2 separate regions of the Homo sapiens genome follow, and region 1 is linked to region 2. Evidence: promoter capture Hi-C in 16 types of primary human blood cells and fetal thymus (Javierre and others, 2016). All regions are on one chromosome and are shown on one strand. Each heading gives the region's core, a stretch centred on a gene start or on the middle of the fragment in contact. The rest is flanking DNA. Distances are from core to core; before and after follow the strand shown. Region 1 overlaps LHFPL3 (LHFPL tetraspan subfamily member 3). Region 2 holds the start of SLC26A5 (solute carrier family 26 member 5).

Evidence for each region. The method cuts DNA at HindIII sites, captures the fragments that hold promoters and counts their contacts. A CHiCAGO score of 5 or more calls a contact.
Region 1: a contact is called between a fragment that was not itself captured here and the fragment with the promoter of SLC26A5 in region 2, in 1 of 17 cell types (naive CD8 T cells). The highest score is 5.3, in naive CD8 T cells.

Annotation. Positions count from the first base shown.
Region 1 is chr7:104,898,655-104,903,459 of GRCh38, forward strand. All of the region lies in intron 2 of LHFPL3 (LHFPL tetraspan subfamily member 3), which reads left to right. The region is part of intron 3 of LHFPL3-AS2 (LHFPL3 antisense RNA 2); the gene reads right to left. Among named protein-coding and RNA genes, the nearest start is that of LHFPL3-AS2, 26 kb to the right of the region's middle. The HindIII fragment of the contact is 1,985 bases long and covers 913-2,897 here.
Region 2 is chr7:103,443,410-103,448,601 of GRCh38, forward strand. It overlaps SLC26A5 (solute carrier family 26 member 5), which reads right to left and starts at 2,798. Exons shown (of 20, transcript NM_198999.3): 1 at 2,689-2,798. It overlaps SLC26A5-AS1 (SLC26A5 antisense RNA 1), which reads left to right and starts at 1,798. Exons shown (of 4, transcript NR_110141.1): 1 at 1,798-3,110; 2 at 3,208-3,259. RefSeq lists an enhancer at 2,171-2,747 and a silencer at 2,804-2,873. The HindIII fragment of the contact is 4,246 bases long and covers 1,335-5,192 here.

The DNA of each region.
Region 1 (4,805 bases), core at 655-3,154, 1.5 Mb after region 2:
GGCCACGAAGCTGGAAAGGGCCAGGCGCGGTGGTTCATGCCTGTAATCCCAGCACTCCGGGAGGCTGAGGTGGGAGAACTGCTTGAGCTCAGAAGTTTGAGGCTGCAGCGGGCTGTCATCTTGACACTACACTCCAGCTTCAGTGACAGCATGAGACACTGTGTCTAAAAAAAAATTATTGGCTAGGCATGATGGCTCATGCCTATAATCTCAGCACTTCGGGAGGCTGAGGCAGGCGGATCGCTTGAGCCCAGGAGTTCGAGACCAGCCTTGACAACAAAACTCTGTCTCTACAAAAATTAGCCAGGCATGGTGGTATGCGCCTGTAGTCCCAGCTACTTACGGGGCTGAGGTGGGAAGATCGCTTGAGCCCAGAAAGTCAAGGCTGCAGCGAGCTGTGATTTTGCCACTGCATTCCAGCCTTGGTGACCGAGTGAGACCCCATCTCTAATATATATATATATATACTGTCAATATTTATTGAGCTCTTTCTATGTGCCAGGTTTATACTTTCTGTTATAAACACCTTATAAGCATCATTTCAATCTTCATGACAGGTTGGAAAGGAAGTACCCCAGCCTATTGAATGGGGAAATTGAAGCACAGATATGTAAAACATCTTCTCTAGAGTTACCCAGCTGGTAAGTTGTTGAATTAGGGTTGAAAGCCAGGGAGAATGGCTCCTGAACACACACATTTAACCACTGAACTATATGCCGCCGAGAAAATCAGGAAACATATTATCAAGGAAGGCCAATTGACTTCAAGATGATATTTGGAGAAAGAACACCTGTGGGACAGACCTCGCTGAGAGAGAGAGAGTACCTCTGGCAGGAAGGGAAGTAAGGACAGAATCAAGAAACGGGAAAATGATACGAAGCTGGTAGTCTTTCCCACACAGGAAGGAGAGGAAGCTTAAAGGAACATGTATGAAGCTCAATATTAAATGACAATGAACAGAGATGAATTTATTATTTTGAAAAGCCAACACTTTCAAAGTATTTCAAAGGACAGCACTTTCAGGAAAGTGCATGTCAGTCACTAAAGTAGGGACAGAACATTAAGATCACCCCCTAATTTATTAATTCTTTTTTTTAGATGGAGTCTTACTCTGTCACCCAGGTTGGAGTGCAGTGGCGTGATCTCAACTCACTGCAACCTCTGCCTCCTGGGTTCAAGTGATTATCCTGCCTCAGCCTCCCAAGTAGCTGGGATTACAAGCACCTGCCACCATACCTGGCTAATTTTTGTATTTTTAGTAAAGACAGGGTTTTACCATGTTGGACACGCTGGTTTCGAACTCCTGACCTCAGGTGATTTGCCTGCCTTGGCCTCCCAAAGTGCTGGGATTACAGGCGTGAGCCACCGCCGTGCCTGGCCGCCAATTTATTAGTTCTCATCAAATGCACTAAGAGTCAAGGATGCTACACTGTCACCCTGCCATGGACCTGTCTTCTGGGCTTCAATAGTAAAAGCCTTTCAACCTATGTAAAATATGGAATGGCTTCATGCCAAAACTGGACAGTTAATATTATTAGGATTTATAAATCAGCAGCAACATTCTATTTTCAATGTGCCTGGGTAAGGCCTGCCAAGTAATTGTGCCTGTTTTCTTGCTTTTAATATATTTCACAGTGTTCCTTAAGGGGAATGAGTGGAAGAAGAGAAAGAGACGTTCATGAGTTAATTGAAATCCCTTCTTGTGAAATACTTACTTTCCAAAGAAAAAAACACATGAGAAAGTGTTGTGCCTTGTGTCAAAGTCTCATTGTCCACTGCATACAGAAATAGCACAGAATTATCAAGGCCTGACTCTTAGGCCATTTTCTGCCCCTTCTCACCGAAGATCTGCATAAGTAGCTAGAATAATTTTAGTAATTATCCTCCATCGTCTCCTGTGTTGAAATCGGTATGTCAGATCCAAAGGGAGACAGGAGGAGTCAGCTCTCCTGACTGTGGGGGCTCCAGACCCTAATTAAAAAGGTCAGACAGGAACAATGAGCAGAAACCAACCACAGGAGACATTTCAACATCTGTAAACACGTGGAAAATTCAGCCAAGTAGCATTTAGATAGCCTGGACAATAGGGCCATTATAAATGCTGCACTCATGAGCAGTGATTCAAATGACAGCTTTGAAAAGGATTTGCAAAGAGCCCTTTGGAAATGTAACATGGGCAACTCCGAGCCCATGACATGTTACAAGGACAAATCTGACTGAACAAAGATCCAAAGCAGCATTGAATGACTTATTTATTCATTCCTGCTCTGTACAAACCTGGGAGAATGTGACATATTTTAAATTACCTCCCCTGATAGGCAACATCCATGGTGCATGGGAAATGTTAGCCAAGTTTTTAAAAGAGCAGAATGTTTCACAAGGTGGCAATTACACCACACTGATGCTTCCACCAAATTCTGCAAATTGTCCTCGTGTCTCACGGTCTTAAGACTGAAGGAGTGATGGCCACATCTGGAGAGGAAAATTCTGACTTTTATTTCCTTCCACTTACTCTCTTTACAAATCTGTTTGAAGAGCTAGTCCTTGCCAAGCCTTCAGGTGGAAAACTCTTCATGTGCATACTATCTAAGTAGTTGTAATAACATTCTAATTTTACTCCCCCAACAAAGTGTTTTCCTGATATTCTGTGGGGAGTGGTTGTGTTCTGATCACAGCTGGTTATTATTATTCAGCCTAAGAGTCTGCAGAACTTCTGCATGCCCTGGGGTTTCTGTTGCGTGGTGGTGTCATGCAGTAGGAAGAAAAAATATGCTCTGGTCGCAGTGTCTAAGTAACTCAAATCCAAGCAAACATTCCCAGCACGCCTTCTGATGAGCAGCATGCACTCATGGGCAAGGCTGGGATTAGGGTGAGGCAAGCTAGGTACCTAGGGGGCAAGCTTTTTTGTTTTTTTGTTTGTTTGCTTGTTTTTTGAGACAGTCTTGCTCTGTCATCCAGTCTGGAGTGCAGTGGTGCGTTCATGGCTCACTGCAGCCTCGACCTCCTGGTCTCAAACGATCCTCCCACCTAAACCTCCCACATAGCTGGGACCACTGGTGTGCACCATCACACCTGGCTAATTTTTTTTTATTTTCTGTAGACACAGCATCTCCTTATGTTGCCCAGGCTGGTCTTGAACTCCTGGGTCAAGCAATCCTGCCACCTTAGCCTCCCGAAGTGCTGGGATTACAAGCATGAGCCACCACGACTGGCCCTGCAAGTTTTAAAGAAGCACTCACCTCACACTTGCATGACCCTGCAAGTGAGCTCCTTAAATTTTATACCCTAGACACTCACTTGCCTCACCCTATTCCAGGCCTGGCTCACTGGCTTCACACTTTCATTTTCCCACTTACTTCTCAGCTCCCTGCCCACCACAGATACTGTGGGTCAGAAGTACAGTCCCAGAGTTGACAATACTCAACAAAGAAGAAACCTTTAATGGCCAGGTGCAGTGGCTCATGCCTGTAATCCCAATACTTCAGGAGACCAAGGTGGGAGGATCACTTGAGTCCGGGAGTTTGAAACCAGCCTGGGAAACATAATGAGACCCCATCTCTATAAAAAAAAATTTTAAATTAGCTGGGCATGGTAACGCGTGCCTGTGGTCCTAGTTATGTGGGAGGCTGAGGTGGGAGGATCATTTGAGCCTGGAGGTGGTAGAGGCCACAGTGAGCTATGATTGTGCCGCTGTAGTCAAGAAGCCTGAGTCACAGAGCAAGACCCTGTCTCAAAAAGAAGAGGAGGAAGAGGAGGAGGGAGAGGAGAAGGAGGAGGAGGAGGAGGGGGAGGAGGGAGAAGAAGAAGAGAGCTTTAGGAATGAAGGACTGACTAATCAATAGTGAGATTAGGCCGGGTGCGGTGGCTCACTCCTATAATCCCAGCACTTTGGGAGGCCGAGGTGGGTGGATCACCTGAGCTCAGGAGTTCGAGACCAGCCTGGCCAACATGGTGAAACCCCATCTGTACTAAAAATAAAAAATTAGCTGGGCATGGTGGCGCATACCTGTAATCACAGCTACTCGGGAAGCTTAGGCAGGAGAATCGCTTGAACCAGGGAGGCGGAGGTTACAGTGAGCCGAGATCACGCCACTGCACTCCAGCATGGGCAACAGAGTGAGATTCTGTCTCAAGAAAAACAAAAAGAGTGAAGTTACAGCGAGGGATCTAATGAGGGATTTGGCCATATGAAGGCCACGGGTGACCCAAGACCAGAGCAGATTCAAGAAGGGTTGTTGATGAATGACCTGTTAGGGTCAGGCCCCAGGCTGTGGGCCCAGATGATGAAGGAGAAAGAGAAAGTTTTGTGAAACTGGCCGCAAATGTTCCCGGAACCTTCCTGTAAGAGAGCTGAGGATCTTCCCAGGGAGACATCTGCCCTGCCGGAGGCTTCCTTCTCCCCTCTACCTCCCGCAGGTATGGGTGTCACTACCCTGGGGTCTGATCTAAAGTCCTTCCAACACTCACTGCTCCCTTCCCAGCCCACTGAGAACAGGTCTTACCCTGACTGGGATGCAGCCTTAGATACATGTACTTCCTTCTTGGCAATCTTACTTTTCCTTCATCCTGTGATGTCATAAAGTCAAACCAGGCAGCTTAGCACCAAGGAGAGAGAAACAGGGAGTCTCTGGTTCATGGATGCCAACAAATGATTCACACCAAAGCAGGCTTTTCTATTATGAAATTAGGAGTGTACTTACTTGAGAACCTCAAGAAAATGAGGACTACCCTCCTGACCCCGTTTTCCCCTGCCCCACACACACATAGATGGCCCTCTGTGGTCTCCCTATTCATCCTTCTAGTTA
Region 2 (5,192 bases), core at 1,548-4,047:
GTGAACTGCTAGGATGTGAGAAAGATATAGTTCAATTTTTGAACTCAGCCATTCCCATATGTAGCAATTCATGAATACAAGTTTGCATATGAGAAATTGTGTCCAGAATGGGGCATCATCAGTAGTGGGAGCAAATCCTCTTAGAGCAGTTGCCTTGAAAAGAGCAAGAAAAGTAGAAAAATGAGAGACTCATAATGTTCAAGATAAGAGTTGATCTTGATCAATTAAAAACTTAATTAGGCTAATCTGTCTTCAGTCTTTTACAAAGAATACAATTATTCCTTCCCATTCACAGAATACTTACTCAAGGGGCCATGTATTTATTCTATTTGAAAGTAAATTAAGTCATATCCACTCAGTTTGTGAATTTACCCACATTGCTTCATTTCCCTTTCCCTCCATCTACCTATCCTCTGACTAATTCGCTGACCCGTTCTGAAGTGAGCTTTCATAACCTGGGCACCAGGAATCCTCTGAAAGGTGTACAAGATTTTGAATGGGTGAGCTTTTTTATTTTTTTTCTGGGGTAAGTCCCTAGTGTCCTCCAGATTTTGAAAGAGTCCTGTCCCCTCCTTCATAATCCTCTAGAATACAATTGTTTTCAAGGGTGAAGGTGGGGAGAAGATAATGATGTTGATAGTTGTTGGTACCTACAATAAAACATTTTATGAAGTTGGTCCTGGAACTAGTCTTCAAAAGAAGGATTAAAAGAGTTCATGAAATTGGATCTATCCTCCAACAGAATGGACTTACATAAAATGTACTCTGAGTCACAAAATGATTAAATTTATCCATGCTGTGTCTTTTGTGCAAGATTTCACTAGTTTGAAACCAAAAGAAAGGAAAATCATCATCTTATTTTTCTTAACTTTATTAACTTAATGATAATGAGAACACCTGGGAATACGGACGTGCTTCCTATTTATCATGATTTCCCTAGAAAACTGTTTCACTTGGGTTACTAAAATGCAGACTACCTGCAACGGTAGAAAAATTAAGATACCAGGGGGCAACACATGATATTTAGAATGAGATGAAAACTCAACTGACTTTGATCGTCAATTAAATAGGCAGTGCACACCTGCATCTACACCTCACAAGGCAATCCATTGATTGTTAGAAACTTCCTCAGTCTTCCATTCTTCTGTTCTTAGCAAAGCGCCTCTATGCGAAAAGCACTCAAATACTTGTTGGATTGAGTCAATTCTTTTGGTTTCACTCATAAATTAATGAGGAACGTGTAACTCTGTATAGTTTCAGAGTAGTTAAAGAGAGAAAAAAAGAAATGCTACATAAGAGAATTGGGGCTTCAGGTGTTACCTAATAGACTAGAAAGCTTTCCAAGAGTGCACTTAAGATATGAGCTATAGCAACCTTACCTAGGCAATTCTTCACCCTAAGTTTCTTTCTAATGCAAATTAGTTTGAATTTCTCTCTCTTCCCTCCTGTCCTTTGCCTGAAAGTCTTCTGATACAAAGCAATACTACCGTAATTAGAAGGAATGCCTGACAAAAATACATTTTAAATTTCATTTTCAAAAAGGTTGATACTTCGTATTGCATACTCCGAATTCCCCTGCATTTCTATGCTGTAAATTCCTAAACTTTAGATAATACATTTATATCTAGTGCACATTGTTCAGTTTTCAGATAGGAAAAAGCTAAATCTCAGTCTGTGCCCGCAAAAAGTTGATATTTTTTGTTGTTTTAAGAGTCTCCATGAATGTTGTTTAAATTCTAGAATCCACAGTACTCATCGAAGCTAGGAAAAGAATTTTGCCCACCCCACAGCGTATCTGAGGCTTTCTTCACAGCTAGCTGATCGGATCCTTGCAGCTGTTTCTTCTGTAGGTCTCGGAGCTCACTGAGAACGTCCAGCACGCCTTCCCGGCGGGGCCCGGCCCAGGTGCGCACTAGATGAGGCAGTCAACCAAGTCAATTGGTTCCCGATCAACTAAATCTCTCCTAAAAATAAACACTGCCGCGAGCTTCGAGAGTTCAGCGTGTCAGAGCCTCTATGATGGCAGAGCACCTGCCGCGATGCCTGATTGGTAGGGAGAAGGATTTCCCGGGAGGGGGCCAATACCAAATTTTAGGGCTGTTAGGCTCTGAGCAGTCCCTTCGTGACCGGATAAGTCAGAGACCCGGGGTTTGAGCCTTGCCCGGCGCTGAGCGGAGGGCCCAGTTTCGGGACCACAGCCTTGCTCCCTGGGAGCTCCGGGCGGCCAATGCCGGGCAAGCCCAGCCCGGCACAGGAGGAGGCAGGGCCCGTCTCCGGAAAGAGGGCCAGAGGCAGAACTGAGGGCCTGGTTTTGTGTAATTCGATTTGGATACAAACAGGCCAGACCCAAACTGGAAACGGCGAAGGGCTGGATTAGCACCGAAGGGATTCGAGGAGGCAAACGGGAAGTAAAAATGCTGTGTGGAGCTGCAGAGGGCAAGGGGACAGGGGTTGCAAAGGAAAGAGCTTCGTGAGACTTTCTCCTTCCCGGCGTAGGGACCAGCAGAGTGCGGGCAGGTCAGCCCTGTCACCGGTTCGTTTAGGGAAAAAGCGCGACATGGGGCCTGGGAGACAGGGGCAGAGGCGGTGACAGCGAGGGCCCCTGCTCGGGTGGGCCCGCGGGCCTCAGCTCAGTCCCCTCCCGAGGGACCGCGACCCCCGGCCCCGCGGCCGCCCGCGCGCACTCACCAGCCCGGGCTGCCCTGGGCGGAGCCGCCCCGCCGCGCTCCACAGCCGCTGCCTCTTCGACGCGCGCGCTGCCTCCAGGTGCGGCTCTAGGAGGAGGCGCCGCGGGCAGTGCCGGCCGCGCCCCGCGACTCCCGGTAACCCGAGCCCGCCCCGCCCCGCTAGGGCCAGGCCCCGCCGCCACCCTCCGCGCTGGGACGCCGGGGCGCGGGCATCCCTGCCGCCTACGGATCTCTTCCCAAGCACCTAGAACTTTCCAAAGCGTGCTTGGAATTTAACACCTTGGTCGTCGATCCCCGCAAATATACTCTGATGAGACCGGCTTTCTTCCCATACCGCCCAGGAGTTTCTCCAGGTGGCATTCCTGTCGCCTTGAGGTGGAACATCAGTAGAGGCTCGAGGCTGAAGCAAGCACAATACACAAGGTATAGCGTTCAAGTGGAAAACATTGCGTATTATGATTTTAAAATGAAAAAAAAACACAAAAAACCTGACTTATCTTTTCAATTACAATCATTATAGAGACTCCGATTCGTACAGGAACATTTCGAAAACAGGAAATCCTGAGGACAATGTGAGTATGAGTTTTTTTTTTTTTTTAATTTTCAAAAATCTTTGATGAACTGCCTTTGGTTAACACTTGGTTTGCAAATATTGACTATTGCACGACAAGGCAATGCATGATAAGTTATTTTCTGGGCATTTAAGTTAGAATTTATAAAACAACTTTTGCTTTTTATTAAGTAGAATAATGTAACACGTTACCCCAAGCTGGGAGAATTGCTTGAGTCCAGGAGTTTGAGACCAGCCTGGGCAACAAAGCGAGACTCCGTCTCTTAAAAAAAAAAATTAGATAGGAAATAGCTTGTTTTGCATCTAGCAACTGGGATACAAGAGAGCACCGCAGCCAGAGTGCCGGGCTCCAAGAGGGTGAGGGGTAGAAAATGATTTCAGATACATACTTCCCTCTGGCTTTATGCCTTAGCAAGGATTATAGTTGGTTCATTAAGAGCATCTTTTTTTTTTTTTTTGCTTTGTGCATTTCTGCGCGTGCACACTGTAGTGACACGTGGCGGACTAGCTGTTTGGTCTTAAAGCTGTAAATGCACGCCTGCAGACACCAGAGGCTTCTGCCAAGGAGACCCCACCTCCAGAACCTGGGCCAGGCCTTTGGCTGGGAGCGCTGGTGCTGTTCTTCATCCGAGAGGAAAGGCTAGAGATTCCCTCCCTACTCCACACGAGGGCGATCTCTTCAAGGGCACCAGACCACTCTCCGCGTCCCTAGCTGAGGAAACCAAATTTGCTTTTCTCCACGCTTTTGAACATCTCTAAACAAATCTTAATAGGGTAATTTACTAAGGAGGAGTTGGGCTCCTGGGACGTGCATTTCTGGTGTCCTTCATTTGCCACTTGGCCTTTGCCATCCTATGAAATTATTTTGTCACATACCTGTCTGTAGCCCAGTACTTCTTACACTTTAATGTGCATAGGAATCACCTGCGGATCCCGTTAAAAACGCAGATTCTGATTCAGTAGGTCTGGGGTGGGGTCTGAGATGTGCCTTTCTAACAGGCCCCTGGGTGATCCTGATAGGCTACTGGAGGACCAAACTTTGAGTAGCAACACTGGAGACAGTTGGATGATAAACTGGTTTTGCCGGTAGCACCAGGTACCTAATATACTAACACAATAATGGCAATGTTGCTAACACCTGTTCAGTGTTTACATGTAGTAGGCACTGTTCTGAGTACATGTATTTACTTGTATAGATATTGCTATTATTTCTGGTTTAGAGATGAGTTTGCTTTTAATATGAGTCTTCCCCACCCCCTACCCCCTTCCCATCCTTGCTGGCTTAATTACATTTATTTGGTATTAGAATATTAGGGAGAGTATCAGGAAGAACAGCTAGTGGATGCTAGACCTTAATACCTAGGTGATGGGGTTGACCTGTGCAGCAAACCACCATGACACACGTTTACCTGTGTAATAAATCTGCACATCCTGGACATGTACTCCAGAACTTAAAAGCGGATAAAAGAAAAAATTAAAGAATATTAAAAAGATCTGAAAACGTATACTCAGGGAATTTTCTTCCCTCCTTTGTTCCACACATTCTAGCCAATCCTGTGTGAGTAAACAATGTCATGATTTCTCATCTATTCTTCCTGTGTTTTTGTAAAGCCACAGATATTTGTTTACATGTTCTTGGCTGCCTGCCTGCCTTCCTTCCTTTCCTTCCTTCCTTCCTTTCCTTCCTTCCTTCCTTGCCTTCCTTCTTTTATTATGCTTTAAGTTCTGGGATACACGTGCAGAATGTGCAGGTTTGTTACATAGCTATACAAGTGCCAGGGTGGTTTGCTGCACCCATCAACCCGTCATCTACATTAGGAATTTCTCCTAATGTTATCCCTCCCCTAGCCCCCCACCTCCGACAGGCCCCAGTGTGTGATGTTCCCCTCCCTGTGTCCAGGTGTTCTCATTGTTCAACTCCCACCTATGAGTGA